Linked DNA regions of Homo sapiens: region 2 is linked to region 1. The links are contacts of gene promoters, found by promoter capture Hi-C in human tissues and cell types (Jung and others, 2019). All regions are on one chromosome and are shown on one strand. The core of a region is centred on a gene start or on the middle of the fragment in contact, and the rest is flanking DNA. Distances in the headings are between cores, read along the strand shown. Region 1 holds the start of MYOG (myogenin). Region 2 holds the start of CHI3L1 (chitinase 3 like 1).

Evidence for each region. The method cuts DNA at HindIII sites, captures the fragments that hold promoters and counts their contacts. A contact is called where the count stands out against the background at its distance.
Region 2: a contact is called between the fragment with the promoter of CHI3L1 here and the fragment with the promoter of MYOG in region 1, in 3 of the 25 tissues and cell types used here (bladder, small bowel and stomach).

What each region holds. Positions count from the first base shown.
Region 1 is chr1:203,084,035-203,087,873 of GRCh38, forward strand. MYOG (myogenin) reads right to left here and starts at 1,978. Exons shown (of 3, transcript NM_002479.6): 1 at 1,457-1,978; 2 at 613-694. The coding sequence starts at 1,927. MYOPARR (myogenin promoter associated myogenic regulatory antisense long non coding RNA) reads left to right here. Exons shown (of 3, transcript NR_160550.1): 2 at 338-539; 3 at 2,449-3,839. RefSeq lists an enhancer at 3,297-3,814. The HindIII fragment of the contact is 26,934 bases long and covers 1-3,839 here.
Region 2 is chr1:203,185,432-203,189,070 of GRCh38, forward strand. CHI3L1 (chitinase 3 like 1) reads right to left here and starts at 1,273. Exons shown (of 10, transcript NM_001276.4): 1 at 1,168-1,273; 2 at 885-914. The coding sequence starts at 1,192. The HindIII fragment of the contact is 13,862 bases long and covers 1-3,639 here.

The DNA of each region.
Region 1 (3,839 bases), core at 728-3,227:
TAAGGGGAGGTGGGAAGGTGGTACCTGGGTGAGCAGTGGGGGTTCTTGAGGCCCAGAATAGAGGATGGGACCCTTGGGGTGACAGAGGTTTTCCAGGACAGATGAATGACAAAGCTCCGGAGTTCTACTCCCTAGTCCCTGCCTTTCCCCATGCTCTGTGAGTGTGTGTGTGTGTGTGTGTGTGTGTGTGTGTGTGTGTATGCGCCTCTTTTCTGAACTCCCCTAGTAGGTAGGGTTTGGAAGCAGCCACTCAAGTTGGAGCAGGATGGAGCTCCCCAGAGACTGGACCTGCCCTTTGCTCGGCCCAGTTTTGCAGCACTGACTCAGCACTTCACAGGGACCCCTGGGGCAGGGACATTGTCCTCTCTGTGGAGAAGGTCAACCACCAGGCATCAGCTGGGGAGCTGCAGGAGCTACTATCACTCCTTTGCTGGTCAAGACTGCAGGGGCACACAGAACCTCCCAGCCCACCCTTTGGGCCTTGGAGTCAGCAGGTCCCTAGAGAGACCCAAGGGAAGAGGACCGGAGCAAGGAATAAGGTAAGAGGGGAGAACCTGGCCCAGGGAGGGACTGAGGGATTGGAGCCAAGGTTACCAGTCAGGCCTTACTTACCCCCTGGGTTGGCGCTGAACTCCAGTGCACTGCCCCACTCTGGACTGCAGGAGGCGCTGTGAGAGCTGCATTCGCTGGGCACCTGCAAGACAGGGCGAAGGCCCAAGGTCGGGGCACAGCCATTCTTTGATGTCTCTCTCTGCCTAGTCCCAGTGGGCAGAAGTACCTGTGGTGGGGTTGGAGGGTGGGCCACAGGCTGTGGCCTTCCAGCCCAGGCCATCCCCAACCCCAGAATCTTTGTAACTAGCTCCTCTCACACCCCAGAGGCCCTGCTTCCAGGCCTTCCTGGCTTCCATCCTGGGTGGTGGTTCTGCTCTCACAGGACACCAGCTTAAAGGGGTCCCTGGTTCTCCTGACTCTGGCGATAAGGGTGATGGAGACAGATTTTGTGGCCCAGTGAAGGTCGCTCTGTGCAGGCCTGCTGGAGTTCCAATGAGACTGAGTGGGTTTTCTCTCTGCTCAGCCACACCCAGGATGGGGGCAAAGCAGTCTTCTCTGGTGAACTTGGCCTGGCCTTTTAGGCTCTGACTCAGGCGCTGGGATTAATCCTCACCCTCACCTGGGCTGACTGTGGCCTTGCTCCTGATCTTTCTTCAGTCCTATGTTCCCCACCCCAACCCCTTCTGCACTTCCTCCCCACTGCCTTTATCTTGTCTGGAAAGAACACAGGACACAGGAGGTCAGCTGGATAGCCCAGCTCTGACCAGGGAAGGGCTCCTGCAGCCCCTCGACCCTGTCTGGCACCTGCACCAACCCTCTGAGCCCCTCTTGGGGTCTTGAGGCTGTCCAGGTGCCTCCCTCTGGCCCCGTCCCCTTGGGGCAGGGGGATGGGATGGCCACTTACCCCTGGCTGGGGCCCGCCCCCGCCCCGGTAGCGGAGGTCACGCTCCTCCTGGTTGAGGGAGCTGAGCAGGGCCTGGAGGCGCTCGATGTACTGGATGGCACTGCGCAGGATCTCCACCTTGGGCAGCCGCTGGTTGGGGTTGAGCAGGGTGCTTCTCTTCAGGGCCTCGAAGGCCTCATTCACCTTCTTGAGCCTGCGCTTCTCCCTCAGTGTGGCCGCCCGCCGCCGGTCCACGGACACCGACTTCCTCTTACACACCTTACACGCCCACGGCAGGCACTGGCCTGGACAGTGCTCGGGGGTCCCCAGCCCCTTGTCCTCAAGGGGCCCTGGGGCCTCGGGGCTCAGGGTGAGCTCCGTCCGCTCGTAGCCTGGTGGTTCGAAGCCCTGGAGGTGGACAGGCAGGTAGTTTTCCCCATCATAGAAGCGGGGTTCCTGGTAGAAGTAGGGGGATGTCTCATACAGCTCCATGGGGTCGGAAAAGGCTTGTTCCTGCCACCAGCCCCCAAGCTCCAGCAGCCCCTCACGCCAACTGCTGGGTGCCATTTAAACCCTCCCCGCTGGCATGGAACCAGAGATAAATATAGCCAACGCCACAGAAACCTGAGCCCCCTCTAAGCTGTTGCTGCACATCAAGGCGTTTACAGTGGATTAGATGTGATTCCCCTTCTTTCTCCCGCATGGCCCCCACCCCACCCTGCCAGCCTGCCCCTGGCCCAGGCGGGCTCCTGTGCACGGGTCGGGAGGCCGTCGGGTGTAATTTGATTAGTTTTCATTTCTCAGCAGCCCCTGTGGGGCAGGGGCGTTGGGGGAGGACACATTCCCCTCTCATCTGCTCCTTTCAATTACTCCTAGCTGGGCGGCCTGCCTGCTGTCTCCTTGCAGTCCCGAAGAAGCTGGTGGGTATAGGGGGAGGAGGGAACAAGGAAGGGTAGGCTTAGGCTGGAAGGGGCCTTAAGAGCCAACTTATCCATCTCCTTGCTTCCTGACAGCACCTTAACCACACTACATCAGTCGATGAGACTCTTTTAAAGACTTCCCTCCGGAAAGAATGGGACTGCTTCAGATTCTGGGCATTCATGGGCACTCAGTATCCAGGGATAAGAAGGATCAAGACTCAGAGCAGCTAACAGATTCCACTTTTGGGGTTCCCAAGCAGCTTTGAGCTGTATGTTCTCTTAGGTCTCATCTGGGGGGGTAAATTGAGGCAAGAGAAATTATTTGGGTTTTGGTTTTCTTGGCAGGGGTAAAGAGAAATTTCCTCTTTAATACAGCAGCCGTGGTCAGAGCAGAGATTAGAATTTACAGCCTACACGTTGCCACCTTCCCCAGAGCGGCAAGGTCAAGATGTCCTAAGCTCCCTGTCTCCTCCCTGTCTCACTCCGGACCATTGATCTGTCCTTCTATGTTACCTCCTCAACTCTTTTTCCAACACCAGAATTTTCCTGGCTCATTAATGTGGACGGGGGTGAAAAAGTAGAAAAAACAGAGCCCTTCAAACTCAGTTTAAATCTCCTCTCTCCTTGGCCACCGGGCTTGGTTGTTCTGCCTCTTACTGTCTGAGCCATCAATTTTACACGTATCATGCAGGTCTCAAATGTCAGGTAGAGCAGGGACTATTTAATCTTCAGGCCTCTCAGGCCATGGTCACCTCTCAGTAGGTGCCTCAGGGTCTGAGAGGACAAATTCCTTCCAATGCAGTGGGCAGACCTTAGACACTAGCAGTGAACAAGGCTCAGTCTTAGGGCTGGGGATTATAGGGACACCCCAGACAGGATCCCTGCCCTCGAACTTACCATCTGATAGACAACGGTGATCACCTCTTTCTACCTAGCCCCTGATGCCCAAATCTCCTCCGAGGCGGCTACTGTTCAGCTTCTGCTCACGTCAGGAGACAGCCCGTTCCATTGACGTGTAGCTTTGGGCTGCAATCTGCTCCCTCTATCTTTTATCCTTTGTTCCCAGTTTTTTCCTCCCCATAGACTAATGTCCTGCTCCTTATCCTACGACAGATCAAACTGACAAGTTCAAGCCAGTGGCAAGGACAATAAGAGGAAGGGGAACCCTGCTGGGGACTCATGGGAGACTTCACAGGGAACATGAGATCTGCGAGGCATGTGAAGAACCAGTGTTCCTTCCTCTCATTATTCACAGCAGGGAGCCAGGAGAATTCTGATGTCCTTTTGGGACAGGAAATGGAGGGAAGGAGGGAACATAGCTGGACAACAAAAGAACCCTAAGCATGTTGAGGGAGAGCAGTGAGGTCTTAATTCTGTTCTTGGCCTTACCAGCATGATAGAAAGTAGCAGCATAGGCCGGGCGTGGTGGCTCATGCCTGTAGTCCTAGCACTTTGGGAGGCCAAGGCGGGTGGATCACGAGGTC
Region 2 (3,639 bases), core at 23-2,522, 100 kb after region 1:
GACCTCAGGCTGAGCCCAGAGCTGAGCACCAATGGGGTGTGGGGTTGGGTAGGGAGGAGTGGGGTGCAGATTGTGAGCAAAGTCAGAATTCTTAAATGAAAGGAGCTGGTTCAGGTCCCCCTGCCTCTGGGGAGTTCCCTGACTGGTGAAAATAAGGCCTATTCTGAAAATGCTTAGAAAAGATCCAATGCAGGGGATGAATACGCTACAGGCACTGTGTGGGGGAAGGGTAGGAGCTGGGGAATAAGGATGAAATGGGACTTGGTGCCAGCACAGCAGGCTTCCTGGAAGCAGTGGCTTTGTGGGAGGGGAAGGCCCAAGATAGCCTGTGTCACAGATGGCCCTGGCTTTCAGGCTGGCACCTTTAGTGACCTGCAGTGAGGTCCTTCATCCATGAGGGACTCTGGCCCACCTTTCTCTGCCTCCTGGTGAGAGTGCCTCTAACTTGTAACCCACCCGGAATGGCAGTCCTGTGCTCCCTCGGCATGTCCCCCAGGCTGGGGCACAATATCACAATGGACCAGGAAATCCTTCCTCGCCTCTAATTCTGTTTCTCCTGCTGCAAACAATGTGGGCATCACTCATCCAAGCAGCTACTGGGCAACTGTACTAGCGGCTCCCAGGGGCTGTTAGTCAAAGCCTTCACTGAACCAGGACCTTTTAAAGTTTCTTATTTTGAGAATTTTCACATATACCAAAGAGTATAGCAAAATAAACATCCATATACTCCTCACTCCAGTTTAGCAAACGTGACTATTTCGAAGTCATTGGAAGCACAGAAGAACCTGGCAAAGTGTTCCCTTGGAGCTAAGACCTCCTCCACACCTGCCCTGTGCCCTCGCCACGCCTCTGGACTTAAAAGTGGAGGTGGAGGGATTACTCACAGCACTGGAGCAGCACCAGGACCACAAAGCCTGAAGAGAAATCCAGGATGAGACCCCTGCAAGTGCATCCTGCCCTTCCGCCCTGCTCCCTCCCCCAAGCAACTGAGACCCACCTCCCCCACCCCCACCTCCTGGTTGCAGCCTCAGTCCCTCCCCTGGCTCTGCTTCTCCTCCCCCTCTGCCCACTCCCTTAGTCCCTCACCCAGCAGGCAGATGGCTCTGCGGGCTGTCTGGGCCTGAAAACCCACAACTCTGATGGATTAACCTTGGCTAGCCCAGATACCTGTTTGAGACGCCTTCACACCCATTCTGGCTGCAGCAGAGCAGGGCAGGGTGTGGCCTCTTCCCTTGCCCACGGCTCCTGGTGCCAGCTACCTAGACAGGGCCTCTTCCCCAGGCCCTGTACTTCCTTTATATACCTGTCCCACTCCACTCCCCGACGCGGCAAACCAGCCCTTTTATGGGAACTGAGCTATGTGTCAATGAAGGAATCACGAGGCTGGCAAGTGGAGGCGGGGGAGTACTATGGATTACCAGAGGAGGGTTGAGAAACCGCAGAGTTTTGAAAACTTTGGGTCAGGTCTTCATGAGGCACCTGCCAGCAGAAGAGCCACTAGGGTGATGATGGGGGGCTTCTGGAGATGTGACTCAGCCGCATTTCCCAGCCTTCCTCCCACTCCTGCACCCCACCACTGGCCTTTCTTGCCAGCAATTTCCTGGCTTTTCTGGCAGCCTCTACCTTTGCATCTTCAGCATTCACTCCAGGCCCCTGGCCAGGTGGAAACTGGGCACAATTTAGTTACGTAAGCCACAGTGCCCTAAACAAGGCTGTTGTTTTCTTCCCAGGCTCAGCATTGCCCTGCTTGACCTACCTTCCTACCCTCCCCCTCACACTTTCTGTCTTCAGGCTGGGTAAGGGCCAGAGAGCCTCGGGAGGAAGGAAAGCAAAGAGCCTGAAACTGAGCGCTCCCTTTTGGGCCCGTGTCTTTTTTTTTTTTTTTTTTTTTTTTTTTGCAATTTACATGCTGATTATTTAGAGGGAAAGACAGGGAAATTCCCAAGAATGCTTTAAGCCCCGGTGCTATTTTGCTTCTGTTTTGAAATTCCCATAAAGAGAGAGGATCTTTTGCAAGCTCGGTGCTGCAGTGAGGCACCATGGAGGAAATACAGGCCCTACGGGGCGGCTGCACGAGCATCTGACATCAGTCAGCTCCCCAACTCTCTCAGTGAGGCTTTGGAACCCAAGCCTGATGATACAGCCCCTCTCTAAATCCTTCAGTGATCTCTCATCACTCCTAGGACAAGAACAAAACTTCTTAACGAGGCTCCCTGCCTGATTACGTCCCTGTTTGTGGATACATTTTTTTTTTGGCCAAATATCCAGGACAACTCCATTCTTTGCAGGCTTAACATTAATTAATAGGCAGTGAGTGAAAAGTTCAGAACTCCAAGAGGCAGAATGGGTCCAAGGGCTTCTCAAGAAAGTACCTTTATTTTTCACTAATGTTAGGTAATACTCTAATTTTTCCAGGCTGGTTTTGCAGCTCTCTCGGTGAGGTCTCTCTGCTCTCTCCCTCTTCTCTCCCTCTCTCCCTTTCTCTTCCTTTAAAACTCAGCCAGTGCCTTCCCTTCATTGTAAGAGAGGTGGACAAAAAGTGGCTTGTCCAGAATCACGCTCGGTGAATACTAAAGAGGCATCACTTTTCCTTTTTAAGATGACTGCCTCCTTTTGTACCCAAGATGATTGACAGCAATGACAGTCAATGATAGCTTCTTCTGGTTCATTTGGGGCACTGAGAGGAGGACTTCTAATTTCTAATAGTGATATTATGAAGTGGCATGCAGATGCAAAATTTTTCATCACAGAGCACAGGATGTTAAGAAAACACCTCCTATTTTCACTATCTCCCTTTGTTAAAAATTATTTCATAGGCTTAGATTGGCCCAAGCCTTGTTGTCCTATGCTCCCTCAAGCTCAGTTTATTAATTCCACATGCTCTGCCTGAAGGCAGCTTTGTAACAACAAATGGCCAAGATACCCCCAGGCCTGTGTTAGCAGGATTGGCCAAGGGTCTCATAGGCTCACCACCTCCCAGCCTTATCTCAGGCCATGACCCCCACCCTCCCTATATTCCACTCATGCTTATATGTCTTCTTTTAAATCCTTATATTTGCTCTACTGACTCCCGCCACAGGGCCTTTATATATGACATCCACTTGCCTGTAAATAACGATGAAAGATCTGAGATTTTATGCTACTTGCAAATTAATGACATAACTACAGTTTCGTGGATGTTGGCAGAAGACACGAGACTCCTAGGTCAGAGACAAAGGACTTTATTATCCATGGTACAGCAAGCAGCATGAACTTCATGTTAGGGTCAGTTCCCCTTAGCCCTCAGGTCTCACAAGGGCAGTGTTGGAGGAGCCCAGGTAGATGCCATGAATGCAATGAGTTACATCACAGCAGAGGAATCCCTAGTTTAAGGAACTCAAATCTTTCATGATGAGCAGTAAGCCTTCCTCACCTTGGCCAGCCCAAGATAAGGGAGACATTATCTTTATTACTGGACAGTAAACAAATCTGCCTTTTGGTCTGGAGGGGGGACGCTATTTCTATCTTCCAAGGCTGTTTGCTGTACAAACATCACTAAAAAGATTGCCTAGAACAAAGAAGCCAGTGCCTCTGCACATAAGCTGTGCAGGAAATGCAGGCAACCCATGGAGAATTGCGGTTGGAGAATTGCGGATGGAG